3 separate regions of the Homo sapiens genome follow, and all the other regions are linked to region 3. Evidence: promoter capture Hi-C in 16 types of primary human blood cells and fetal thymus (Javierre and others, 2016). All regions are on one chromosome and are shown on one strand. Each heading gives the region's core, a stretch centred on a gene start or on the middle of the fragment in contact. The rest is flanking DNA. Distances are from core to core; before and after follow the strand shown.

Region 1 (4,644 bases), core at 711-3,210, 5.5 Mb before region 3:
ATTTCACGGAAAAGCCCAATGATTCTAAAATTTAGCTTGAGGAATAATCATTAATTCGTTTATTCATTTAACCAACAATTCCCTGAGGGCCTACGAAGTACCAGGAACTGTGCTATATACTAGAGACACAATAGTGATTCAGTGCTGTGAAGGACAAGTACATGGTGCTACATATCATGGGCATATTTGACACTGTAAGGGAGAGCAGGCGTCCCTAAATTGATTTAAATGGATCTTTTTTTTTGTTTGTTTGAGATGGAGTCTCGCTCTGTCGCCCAAGCTGGAGTGCAGTGGCACGATCTCGGTTCACTGCAAGCTCCGCCTCCCGGGTTCATGCCATTCTCCTGCCTCAGCCTCCCGAGTAGCTGGGACTACAGGCGCCCGCCACCATGCCCAGCTAATTTTTTGTATTTTTAGTAGAGATGGGGTTTCACCGTGTTAGCCAGGATGGTGTCGATCTCCTGACCTCGTGATCCACCCGCCTTGGCCTCCCAAAGTGCTGGGATTACAGGCGTGAGCCACCGTGCCCGGCTTTAAATGGATCTTAAGAATAAGTGGAAGTTAACCAGGAGAAGTAAGGTAGGGAGACAGCATTATAGGGAAAAGGAAAAGCATTTGCAGCACTTGAAGAGATCAAAGCGAGCTGAAAAGAATCCAGAGTGACTGGAGTACAGAGAGTAAGTGAACATGAAATGATGACGTAGAGGTAGACAGGGTTCTATGTCAAAGAAAAAATTTTGTAAGCTGCTCAACAATCATTTTAAGAAAAGAATAGGCTGGGCGCGGTGGCTCACACCTGTAATCCCAGCACTTTGGGAGGCTGAGGTGGGTGGATCACGAGGTCAGGAGTTCGAGACCAGTCCGGCCAACATAGTGAAACCCCATGTCTAATAAAAATACAAAAAATTAGCCAGGTGTGGTGGTGTGCTCCTGTAATTCCAGCTACTTGGGAGGCTAAGGCAGGAGAATCGCGTGAACCTGGGAGATGGGAGGTTGCAGTGAGCCGAGATCACGCCATTGCGTGTGATTCTGTCTCAAAAAAAAAAAAAAAAAAGGAATAAAATGATTAAATTTCTGTCTAGAAAATGTTACTGTGGCATTAGAAGAGTCTGGAAGGATGCCAGAACCAAAGTGGGGAGATGAGTTAAGAAAGTATTTTAGTAATAGAGATGAGAGATACTGGCACCTTGAACTGGAGTTTTGTTGGTCAATGTAGAGAAAATGGACAGCCTCAAGCTACATATCAGAGGTAAAATGGACAGGAATAGGTGCTGGATTAGCTATAGGGGGTGAGGGGACAGTAGGCAAGAATAACTCCTAAATTTTCTGGGTTGTGTTAACATGGTACAGTTTCTTTCTTACTGGGATAGGGAATATTAGAAATGAAAATCAGGGAATTTTTTGGGGGGGTGTGGAGGCATGGTGGTGAAGTAAACAATGAGCACTATTTTGCACATGTTGAACCTGAGGTGCTTTTAAGATAGTCAAGTCTTCCTAATCTTAGAATAGCAATAAATTAGGAAGTGATACATTTTTGACTATATAAAAATGAAAAACTTGATATCCAACAGCATACCTCACTAAAAAGGGCAAACCAACATTGTGAGAAAAATGTGTAACAAATGCTACATTTTAAAAAATTCATATATAAAATCACCCCACATAAGAAAAATATGAAGAATCCAAGTAGTAAATAGGAAAAGGTTATAAAACAGCCAATGTAGAACATGTCAAGGAAAACATCACAGGAATTACTAATGGAAATAATCTAATTTTTCTTGACCTTTAAAAAGTTTTAGTCACTCTGGTAAATCTAATCAACTTGACATGTGATTCTAAACTGTATTTTAAAAAACATTTCAAGGAGACATCGAACAAAAAAACCGTATTTTTTTCTGTTACAGAAAGGATATAAAACTGTTCTTGTGAGAATGGCTTCCATATTAGACTCCAAAGAATACATTACTAACATATATAAGTATGTCTGCTTTTAAGGTTTTTATCCTTTCTTTATTCTAAAGTTGCTACCATATCCATAAATTATAAAGACGTTAATTTGTTTTCCATAAGTTTTCTTAAAAAGAAAAATAAAAAAAATTAAAGGCTTCTAAAAGAATGGATATTTGGCTTTGGAGAATATAAGGTATTATATAAAGTAGAAAAAATATGTCACACAATTTCTAATAATACTCAGAGGGGACAGTCATACAGTCTCAGTATTTTTCTCCTTTCAACTCAACTTTCATTTATTTGGTGGTATTAAAATACACATGTAAGAGACTTTTACTTCTTCTACAAAGAAACACTAAGGACAACGGCCTTCCCTCTGTAAACAACTATAAAACTAGAGAAAACAAAATAATTGTTTTCAGACATTGGACAATAAGCAATATAGGACTGTGATCCTGAAAGATGGGGAAAAAATGAGGTGTGTATTATAAATTGCCTCCGATTATGGTCTGGAGAGAGTTTTCAGGTTACAACATAGCCTGGTAGTCTCCCTGAATCGAGGAGACAAGAGATTTTGGGGAGTTTGCAGTCTAGAATTTTAGGGCAGAGTACCAGAGACAAACTGTACAGAAAGAGCTTCACAGATTTGCAAAGACTTCATATTACCCAGGTTTTTGGCTGAGTAATGATTTGTACATGTGTTGGGCAAAACTACAAGTCTGAAGAGAGAACCGCTGGAAAGCAGTAGAGTCCACACAGTGGTAAGGTAACACGGCTCACAACTAGGAGAAAAATCCATCAACAGAAATATACTCAGAAATGGCAGATGAAGGATTTAGGGAAAGAACTTAAATCAGCTATTAAAACTATACTCCATAAAACTATTCATCCATAAAAAGAATATGGATTGGAAAGAAAGAAGCAGAAGTGTCCTTATTTGCCAATTACATGATCATTTACACAAAAATTCTAAGGAATCTAAAAAAAGCTACTATAACTATGAGTTCAGTAAAGTTAGCAAGTTTAGTAAGGTCACAGGATACAAGGTCAATATATAAAAATCAATTGTATTTCTACATGCTAGCAATGAACATTTGGAAATTAAAATTTAAAAAACAACTTTTTACAGTAGTATCAAAAATACAAGATATTTAGGAATAAACTGAACAGAAGTATCAGTCCTATACACTGAAAACTACAAAACATTGTTGAAATAAATCAAACAAGATCTAAGTAAATGGAATGCCATGTCTGTTGGTTGGAAGTTTCAATACTGTTAACATGTCAATTCTCCCCAAATTGATCAACAGACTCACACAATCCTAATAGGTACTATGCTTTACAACAGATCTCTAGAAATTTTTCATCTTGCAGAACAGAAATTTTATACTCATTGATTAACAGTTTTCCATTTTTCCCTCCTTACAGCCCCAGCAATCACCATTTTATTCTCTGCTTCTGGGAGTTTGACTATTTTAGATACCTCACATAAGTGGAGTCATGTAGTATTTGTCCTTCTGTGACTGGCTTATTTCATGTAGCATAATGTCCTGTGGGTTCATCCAGTTTGTTGAATATAGTAGGATTTCTCTCTTTTTTAAAGGCTTAATATTATTCCATTGCATGTCTATATCACATTTTCTTTATGCATCTTTTGATGGACATTTGGGTTGTTTCCTTATATTGGCTAATGTGAATAATGGTGCAGTGAACATGGGTGTGCAGATATCTTTGAGATCCTGATTACACTCTTTTTGTATACATATCCAGAAATATTCCATTATTGGATCATACGGCAGTGCTATTTTTGATGAATCTCCATACTGCTTTCCATAGTGGCTGCACCATTTTACATTCCCACAAACAGTTGTATAAAAGCTCCAATTTTTCTACATCCTCACAAATGTCTATTTATTTAGAGACGGTCTCACTCTCGTTGCCAAGGCTGGAGTGCAGGGCACCATCTAGGCTCACTGCAGCCTCAACTTCCCAGGCTCAGGCGATTCTCTCACCTCAGCCTCCTGAGCAGCTGGGACTACAGGTGTGCGCCACCATGCCTGGCTAACTTTTTTTGTATTTTTTAGTAGAGACAGGGTTTCAGCATGTTGGCCAGGCTGGTCTTGAACTCCTGGACTCAACCAATCTGCCCATCTCAGCCTCCCAAAGTGTTGGAATTACAGGCGTGAGCCACCATGCCTGACCTTAAATTTATTTTTGATAATAGACATGCTAAGATGTGAGTTGATATCTCACTGTGGTTTTGATCTGCATTTCCATGATTAATGAAACTCAGCATCTTGCCATATGCCTGGAGGCCATTTGTATGTCTTCTTTGGAGAAATGTCTATTAGTCTTTTGCTTGTTTTAAAATTAGGTTAAATTTGTTATTTTGCTATTGAGTTATACGAGTTACCATATTTTGGATATTAACCTTTTACCTTGATAGATGGTTTGCTAATATTTAACTTCCATTTCTCTTTGTTTTTTGGACACAGAGTCTCACTCTGTGGTCCAGGCTGGAGTGCAATAGCACCATCTCGGCTCACTGCAACCTCTGGCTCCCAGATTCAAGCAATTCTCCTGCCTCAGCCTCCCAAGTAGCTGGGATTACAAGTGTGCACCACCATGCCTATTTTTTTTTTTTTTCAGTAGATACAGGTTTCACCATGTTGGCCAGGCTGGTCTTGAACTCCT
Region 2 (4,304 bases), core at 66-2,565, 5.4 Mb before region 3:
GTAAAAAAATCAATCAACCAAGAGTTAGGGATCCCGGAGGGGAATGCAATGGTGACAAAAGAACCTAACAAGCTTGTTTCAGATATGTGATATAACTTCACTAAAGGGATGGGGGAAAAGGTGCTGACCTGAATAATTTTTGGAAAACAGTGTTTTAACTAGAAACTGTAAGATTAAAGACAAAAGTGTACATAAATGCTGCAGCTGGTAAAGTTGTTTCTCACAGGGGTATTGGTTAGCAATTCTGAAACTGCTGTACGTGTATACTGGAAACTGACAAATAAGTAAATGTATTACCATACATTTGGTGATTGATGGGAGCCAAGTTTCTCACTATTGGAGAAGAAGGTTGCAGAAAAGCAAGAGGATAGAATGAACCATGTGGTACTGAATTAGATTTGGAGACACCAATATGAAATTATATTTAGTTTAATATAGATACTGCTGGGCTTTGTAGCAGGTGGCTAGTTTCATAGTGTGCGGTGTTCTCATTTTTCCCTCACCTTCACCCACCCAGACCACAACCCAAACACAATTGTCTTTATTTTTCTGCCTGTCTTTTTGCCAGTAGCGAAAATGTTATTTGTTCATGCCTGAGATAGGTTGTTAACACAAAATTCTAATGAACTAGTCCAAACGCTTAACTTTTGTAGCTGGAAGACCTTCAAACATTTTAAACAAAGAAAAAAATCTTGTTTTTTTCTTTTCCTTTTGGATAGCATAGAGAACTTTTTATTTTTTGTGAAGTAGAATGTGAGTCCTTTTGGGTATATTGGAATTTCTCTGGGGACAATTTTGAAAGAAACTACTGTATACATCAAAAGAACATAAGGATTTCTGTTGTCCAACTGTCTTCAAAATTTTACCTAAAGTGTTCCATTAAAAAAGGCTACTAAGTAGAACTACTAAAATGAATAATAAAAAATATAAAAATGAATAATGAAAAAATACAAAAAAAATAAAAAATAATTCAAAAATTTACCTAGAGTACCATTTAAAAAAGGCTCCTAAGTCGAGCTACTAAAATGAATAATAAAAAATGTAAATTTCAAAGTAGCCTAATGTAGCAAGTTGAGAAGTAGAGCTTTTCCCATTCCCTGTGATTTTGGGCTGAGGGCCCAGAGCTGAGAACAAAGCATATTAGTGCCTGGATTTCTAAAGAAAGGATGCTGCTCCATCTGTGTGAAACTAGCTATGGCCACAGTCATTGCCAGGGAAGCAGTTCTAGCCAGTTCCTTGCATATGGTGGCTCTGTGTAGTGCCATGTGACTTTGCCAGCTTGTTTATAGCTAATTGGTGATTGTTGGGTCAAGTGCTCTTTCACTCTAACTGTACCCAGGCCAGTGGCCTACCGGAAGATGCAATGAAGACATTGCCTACATAGAAGTGGCCATTTGCTGGTCAATTAGATATTTCTTTTTATTTTTCTTGTTTTTGAGACAGGGTCTCACTCTGTCACCCAGGCTGGAGTGCAGTAATGCCATCATGGCTCACTGCACCTTTGACTTCCTGGGCTTAAGCGATCCTCCTGCCTCAGCCTTCTCAGTAGCTGGGAATATATGTGTGCACCACCACACCTGGCTGATTTTTTTTTTTTTGAGATGAAGTTTCACTCTTGTTGCACAGGCTGGAGTGCAATGGCACGATCTCGATTCACCACAACCTCCGCCTCCTGGGTTCAAGCGATTCTCTTGCCTCAGCCTCCCAAGTAGCTGGGATTACAGGTGCCTGCCACCACACCTGGCTAATTTTTTTGTATTTTTAGTGGAGACCAGGTTTCACCATGTTGGCCAGGCTAGTGATCCACCCACCTTGGCCTCCCAAAGTGCTGGAATTACAGATGTGAGCCACCACGCCCGGCCCTGGCTGATTTTTTATTATTGTTTTTTGTTTTTGTTTTTGTTTTGTAGAGATGGTGTCCCACTATGTTTCCCAGGCTGGTCTCAAACTCCTGGGCTCAAGTGATCCTCTTGCCATGGCCTCCCAAAGTGGTGTGAGCTACTGCACCTGGCTGAATCTCCTTTCTGAGATTCTTTCTTTTAGTTTAGTTTTTTTTTTTCGTTTGTTTGTTTTTGAGACAGAGTCTTGCTCTGTCACCCAGTCTGAAGTGCAGTGGTGTGATCTCGGCTCACTGCAGCCTCTGCCTCCCAGGTTCAAGCGATTCTCCTGCCTGAGCCTCCCGAGTAGCTGGGATTACAGGTATGCGGCACCATGCCTGGCTAATTTTTGTATTTTTAGTAGAGATGGGGTTTTGCCATGTTGGCTAAACTGGTTTCAAACTCCTGCCCTCAAGTGATCCACCTGCCTCAGCCTCCCAAAAGTGCTGGGATTACAAGCATGAGCCACCATGCCTGGCTAGTTTTGGTTTGTTTTTAAACAGAAGTTACAGCAAGATAGGCCGTTGCTTATAAGAGCAAAACCCAGTAAAGCACAGATAAATAACTGAGTCATGTCAGTGTTGAAATATTGAAATAGAGCTCCATCAACTCCTTCTAGAGCTGCCTGAATCCAAATTAAAAATATTTTTTCATGCCATCAAGTTCTATTTAAATTTCATATAAGCTTGTTTTCAGGTATAAACAGTTTTTGGTATTGGGAATAGTGCTCTTCACTTGTCAGTTTATGGGAGACATTCTTTTTGTTTCTGTCCTCCATACATATCCACTTGAAATCCTTATCTGAAAGGCTACTGTTGTTACACCAGTGATTCTATTTGAAGCTTCCACTATAGTTCTTATCCACTTGAGCTATAAGGACTGACAGCATCTTCTATTGCCATCAGGACTCCTTTAGGCTCAGGGAATGTGGTTACATTTTGTATCTGTTAAGCAAAGGAAGGCTTTAAAATCGTAAAATTGTGTTTATTTTATAGAGTAAAATAGTGTTTATTTTACAGAGTAATAATCTTAGTGTTGTTCTCCATCCTATTTAAAAAGTGTCCCTGTCAAACAAAAACTTCACTTCTAAGGAGAAAACATGTGATAGGATGATTGACCAGAAGGTTCAAACTATTGAATTTTGGTGGGTTTGTAATAAAATGTTAATTTCTGGGTTATATAGAAATCTCATACGTTAAACTAGAGGAGAGGGGGAGAGGAGAAGAGGAGAGAGAGGAGGGAGAGAGAGAAGAGAAGAGAGGAGAGGAGAGAGAGGAGGAAAGAGGAGAAGAGGAGAGTTGAGAGGAGAGAGGAGAGGAGGGAGAGAGAGAGAGACGACAGGAGAGAGAGAGAAAGGAAGGAAGGGAAGGAAAGACAGTCATCTTTTCCAGGTTTATGCTTTCCACCACAAACCCAAGAGAGTAATCCAGCTTCTATAAATAACTGCAGGCCTCACCTTGTTTCTGTAGATTTCCTAGAGGGAAACTGTACTGAAATTCTCATGATCACTATCATCTGTCCCTGTTAAGTAGACAGTGGGGATGTCCCTCTCTCCCTCCAAGGTTGGAATGTGTGAGTTAGAAACACAGAACACACTGGGAACTCCAGCTTGACCTTCTGCCTGTTCCAAATGAGGCTTTTTCTTGTTTTCCTTTCTGGTAGCTTTTCTGTCTATCTAATACCACTTGGCAACCTTTTTCCATGATAGCAGCTCTCAGCACTTTTTCTTATAACTGACTTTAACCTTAGGGGGCTTTCTTTAGCAGTTGCAACTCTTGCATGCAGGTTCTTAGTCATCTTTTATCTCTAGTGCTGAGCACAGGCTCTGGGCAGTAAGAATTTGTTGGATGAATGAAGGAGTGGGCTCGTGTAGCTAGGCAGTTTAAACTTACTCTCCCAACACCATCTTTTTCTATATATTTTAATTAATGAATGGGATCTTGCTCTGTCACCCAGGCTGAAGTGTAGTGGCGTGATCAGTACAGCCTCAAATTCCTGGACTCAAATGATTCTCCCACCTCAGCCCCCCAAATAGTGGGACTGCAGGCTCAACACCATCTCTAAATGATAGCTTTTATCGGAGCTCCTGCCAGCCCGCTGGGGGTGGCTACGTGCTCTTTACACTGCTCTTTAAAAAAGAGCAATGATGTTAAGAACCTTAATTCTACATATATTTATTATATAAGGCAAGTGTTAGTTGTTATTGTCATAGAAGATACAAAAATAACCACAACATAATCCCTGGTTTCCAAGAGTTTTTAATGTAGTGGAGGAGACAGATGTTAGTAACTTTAACGTAGGGAAGGGTAAATTCTGCAAAGACTTCATGAATATGGTGGCTTTTGAGCTGGTCTTTGAAGGCTGGAGGAATGTAACACTTGGATATTATGCAGAAGAAGGAATGTTATTCCAGGTGGAGCAACATGA
Region 3 (4,332 bases), core at 519-3,018:
TAAGCCGAGATCATTCACTGCACTCCAGCCTGGGTAACAGATCAGGATTCTGAAAAAAAAAAAAAAAAAAAAAAAAAAAAAAGGCAGAGTTGGGGGGCGGTAGGTAAGCAGAAACTTAAGTGTGATGGGCATACTCATTTGATCACAGTGATGGTTTAAGGGGTTATACATATGTCAAAACTGATAAAAATTATACACTTTAAGTATGCTCTATATATTCTATGCCAATTATACTTCAGTAAATATATCTAAAAAAACCCTACAACTCAGATGTCAGATTTTGAAGACGGTGGAAAAGATGCAGAATGGAAATTTCAGTTAAAGGCCTCAGTGATGTTTGTGAGTTATCCAAGTATTCAAGGAATCCATGCTTCCTCCATCTAGCTGAGACTCGGCAGAGTTTAATGAGCAATCTCAATACTATTCTCCAGAAATGGTGTCATCCACCATACTATGGCTGTTTTCAGGAAGAGAATGACCTAATCAGTATAAAATGAACTCCATGTCTTGTGAGAGATTTATAATTAAACACATAATCCACATTTACAAACATTTTTAAAGGGCTTTTCTACCTGTAGGAGAGGATTAATATTGAGAGTGAACTTTTTGCAAGTTTTCCAACACACTAGTTTATCTCTAAGAGCCTCAGTTTCCTCATCTATAAAATACCATAAGAAATAAGAAAAAACAGGAAACTAAAAAGAGCAGGCTTTGCCAGAGCTATTAATTATTCTTTTTTGGGCAGAGCCAAAACTCAAGAAATGGAAGTCTCTCTTCCATTTCTAGACTTTTTTAGAGAGATCCATGAGGAAGTTCCCCTCCATAGCTTTGGCCGACCATCACACCGGTCAAGAAGGCATCCAGCCTCTCCCAGGCTCAGCCTGTGACGGAAAACCACACTGATTTACTAGGATAGCCTTGAGCTCTCTCATTAGCCCTCACGTGTTCTGAACGTTAGAGCTAACTTTCCAGACCCTCATTATTTGTTGAAAGGCTGGATGGGGAAAATCTCAACCAGATCTCCATGCCTACTTGCAAGGAGAGGTAGTTTTTGCAGGGTGGCCTGTGTTCTCCAGATGCAGAGCCATACAGGGCCTTGCTTCTTTACGGGAGATACAAAAACTCGGCCCTAATAAACAGAAATAGTGGTTGAGCCCACAAACTAGCATTAAGTTGTCCTAACTGTAATTTCCAGCTCCGTCACTTGCTGTGTGGGACCTTATTATCTCCAAAACCCAATTTTTTCAACTTCACAATGGAATTAAAACAATCTAATTTTTCAAAATGGGGTTAACTTCCACTGTAAGTTACAGTATATTGGCCAATAATTAACTTGAACACTAAAGCTGGCATTTAACAGATCAATTCAACTGTTTTCTAAGTAAATACTTAAACGCTTAAAAAACCGTAATTTACTGAGAAAACAAAGCTTTCTTTCTAGGTTAAGAATTTGAGAAAACAAGACCCAGAAGCAAACTAAAATCAAGTCCTAAAATGGTACAAACCTCAAAAAGCCAATCAGGTTTGCCAATAAAGCTCCGCCTCCGTGCAAACTCTGCCCACTTCCGGCTTCCCCACCCACCTTCTACCAGTGGAACCCCGCCCCTCTCTGCGAGGTCCCGCCCCCCACACCTGATCCTGGTTCCCATTGGGCGAATCTGGATGCTGTATACACAGCCGACACACGCACATTAGGCTGGGGCGTCTTCGCGCCTGCGCAGCTGCGCTGTCAGGCGGCTGAAAACGGGGGGGTTGGGGGGAGGGGGGCGGAGGTCGTGCCGAATCTTCCTCCGTAATAAGAAGCGACGTGTCCCACTGTCCTGGCTCCGTGGGTCCAGTGAGATTGGGCCTGGGCGCTGGAGCTGCTGTGGCTCCCGCCGCGGCGGCTGCCATGGAGGCCATGCCAGAGCCCAGAACTCACGCCGGGGGAGGCCGAGACAGCCGGCGGTACTCATAGATGAGGCAGCGGCGGCGGCGGCGGCGGCGGCAGCCCGGGCTCTCCATGAGCAGGCGGCGGCGGCGACGGGTGCGGCGGCACCGGCAGTTTTCGGTCCCCAGGGAGGTACGAGGAGTTTGCTTCCTGGTGGACGGAGACTGGCCGGTGTGGGAACGCCTTCCGCGGCCCGGCCCTCCAGCCTATTTGTCCGCAGTTCTGAGCACTCGGCGGGGCACTGCCCGGGCAGAGGCGGGGGCGCCCAGCCGACTCGCGGGCCCCTAACTCGGGGACCCGCCCGCCTCGGTGCCAGGCCTCCCGGGCGCGGCTGCCCAGGGCCAGGGTGGGCGTGGCCGGAACGTGGGGGCTCCCCGGGGGCGCACGCCTAGCGTCCGCCTTGTCCCTGTCCCGAAGTCCCGCGCTGCTGGGAGCGGTAGCGCGTGGCTGTACAGGCGTATTTTAGGCGCTGATTTGAGAGGGGACTTTTAGAATCCCTGAGTCCTTAGGGAGTCTGGCGTTCAATGCCTTGGGCATGTGGTGGGGTCCTCACGGCTAGCTTGGGGTACCAATTTCCTCCCTTGGAAGTCACCACGAAAGAAAGATGTTTTGTCAAAGAAATAGAGGTCAGGAGAGTTTTCCAGGTTTATTCAAATTGGAGGGCCCGTAGAGCCTGGAGAATAAAGCCAGCGGAATACATCCTCCAGTCCTTCTAATTACAGTTCCTAGCTAAACAGCTAAGACAATTTTAAGTAAAGCTCTTCACAGCTATCTTTCCATCATTTTTCCCCACCCCTCATTTTTATTGCAATTTACTTTGGAACAAATCACCAAATTCATGATGAAACTAGTATCCTCTAGTTCTTCCAAACCTTCCCTCCTCCCGTTTTTTCCAGAGAAAGACTAAAGTTTCATGCCACATATGTCATTATAGTTTAATTCTCTTAGAGTGTAAGGGTAGTTACACTTCATTTGGTCATGTCTGAAGATAATGTGAAGAAAATATCCTAGAGATTTATGCTTCCTTCCCAATGCACTATTTTAGGAATCCGAACTCAGGCTCTTTAAGCAATCTTAAACCTTGCTACAAAGTTCTTTAAAATTCAACGGAAATAAATCAAACCATAAAGTTATTTTCGTTTTTAAAGTATTTGAATGCATAACTGTTTTTTAAAATCTTTGTAAACAAAACGAATCAGTATCTATTACGAAGAAACTGAGTTTGTGTTTTCCTAGGCTGCAGATTTGCCACACCCTCTTCTTCCTAAGTGGATGACTAGAATCAATGTGTTGGCCAACTAGATATAAACATCCACTCTTCATACTAAATATAGTTACTGGATATTTTAGAGTCCACAGTATCTTGCTTCAAACTGAAAACACTGTGTTCATGTGTGTTTAATATATTGCAGAAGTGAATTTTTACTCGCGTTGCAGAATGTTTTGGACTTAGTTTCTTACACAAATAAAACACGTAGGACTGCAGCTTTATTAAGTGTTGAGTTCATGTTGTGTTTGGGAGGATGCAGCACTTGGAAAAGATGGTCAAAATAAGACACTGATCTCAGTCACTCATTTCTCTGTTTCCACTCCTCAGATGCCTCCCTTTTTTCATAACAATACTTCTCCATAAAAGTAACCTCGGAAAACAATATGATGTTGTTAGTTTATTTGCTTGTCCCAAGTAAAGTGAAGGAGTTTTTTCAATACAATTGTAAAAAGAACTCATTCTTTCAAAAGTATGTGCGCTATATAACATACATATAACACAACATATTTATTAAAATACTTACTGTGGCTTTAAAAACAAAGTGCCTAGTGGTCCTCAAGGTTGGGGAAGAGTGCCAGTTTGAAAAGGGAGGATGCTTTGCTTCATTCTGAAAACATGCATAGGGAATAATCAGGATATTTATCAAGTTCTGAATCAGATCTTCATAGTATAGCCTCTGTAGTTAAAAATTATAGTATATCTAAATTGCACAATAGCACAATTCTCAGTTGCAAATAAAAATCCCAAAGTGATTAGCAATATTAGCTATGCTACTATTCACTTAAGATTGATTTTCATGATTACTCCTCATGCTGTCTTTCAAAGCTAAATGTCAGAATTAGTCTTAGTCTATATAGCAACAGGAGTTTTTTTTTTTACATAGTTTTTCTCTACAACAAATAAAATATGTAGTATAGTTAATATAAAGATTATGTAATGGCTATTATTCTGTACCCCCAATTAAGGATCCCATTATATTAGTTTCTTAAGTGGAATCACCCATATTAACAAGAAAATGAAGCAAGCACAGCCTGTATTTTGGAAAGATGAGGAGGTTTACATTAGGAATATGCCTAACCAAAGTTAATGTTTTTAATAGCTTTATTTTCATTTAGGAATTTTTTTTTTTTTT

The links. Contacts are between HindIII fragments. The CHiCAGO score rates a contact against its expected background, and 5 or more counts as called.
Region 1: a contact is called between a fragment that was not itself captured here and the fragment with the promoter of DORIP1 in region 3, in 10 of 17 cell types (naive CD8 T cells, non-activated CD4 T cells, activated CD4 T cells and 7 more). The highest score is 25.3, in naive CD8 T cells.
Region 2: a fragment that was not itself captured here is called in contact with the fragment with the promoter of DORIP1 in region 3 in 13 of 17 cell types (total B cells, total CD4 T cells, naive CD4 T cells and 10 more); the score reaches 34.1 in total B cells.

What each region holds. Positions count from the first base shown.
Region 1 is chr14:39,404,093-39,408,736 of GRCh38, forward strand. The region is part of intron 1 of FBXO33 (F-box protein 33); the gene reads right to left. Among named protein-coding and RNA genes, the nearest start is that of FBXO33, 26 kb to the right of the region's middle. The HindIII fragment of the contact is 6,248 bases long and covers 1-4,644 here.
Region 2 is chr14:39,451,703-39,456,006 of GRCh38, forward strand. All of the region lies in intron 1 of LOC105370461 (a long non-coding RNA gene), which reads left to right. Among named protein-coding and RNA genes, the nearest start is that of FBXO33, 21 kb to the left of the region's middle. The HindIII fragment of the contact is 2,490 bases long and covers 71-2,560 here.
Region 3 is chr14:44,895,507-44,899,838 of GRCh38, forward strand. DORIP1 (dopamine receptor interacting protein 1) reads left to right here and starts at 1,769. Exons shown (of 5, transcript NM_001017923.2): 1 at 1,769-2,062. It overlaps LOC101927418 (a long non-coding RNA gene), which reads right to left. Exons shown (of 3, transcript NR_110050.1): 2 at 3,724-3,807; 3 at 3,402-3,570. RefSeq lists enhancers at 1,414-1,463, 2,088-2,587 and silencers at 1,954-2,083, 2,104-2,423. The HindIII fragment of the contact is 3,873 bases long and covers 1,428-4,332 here.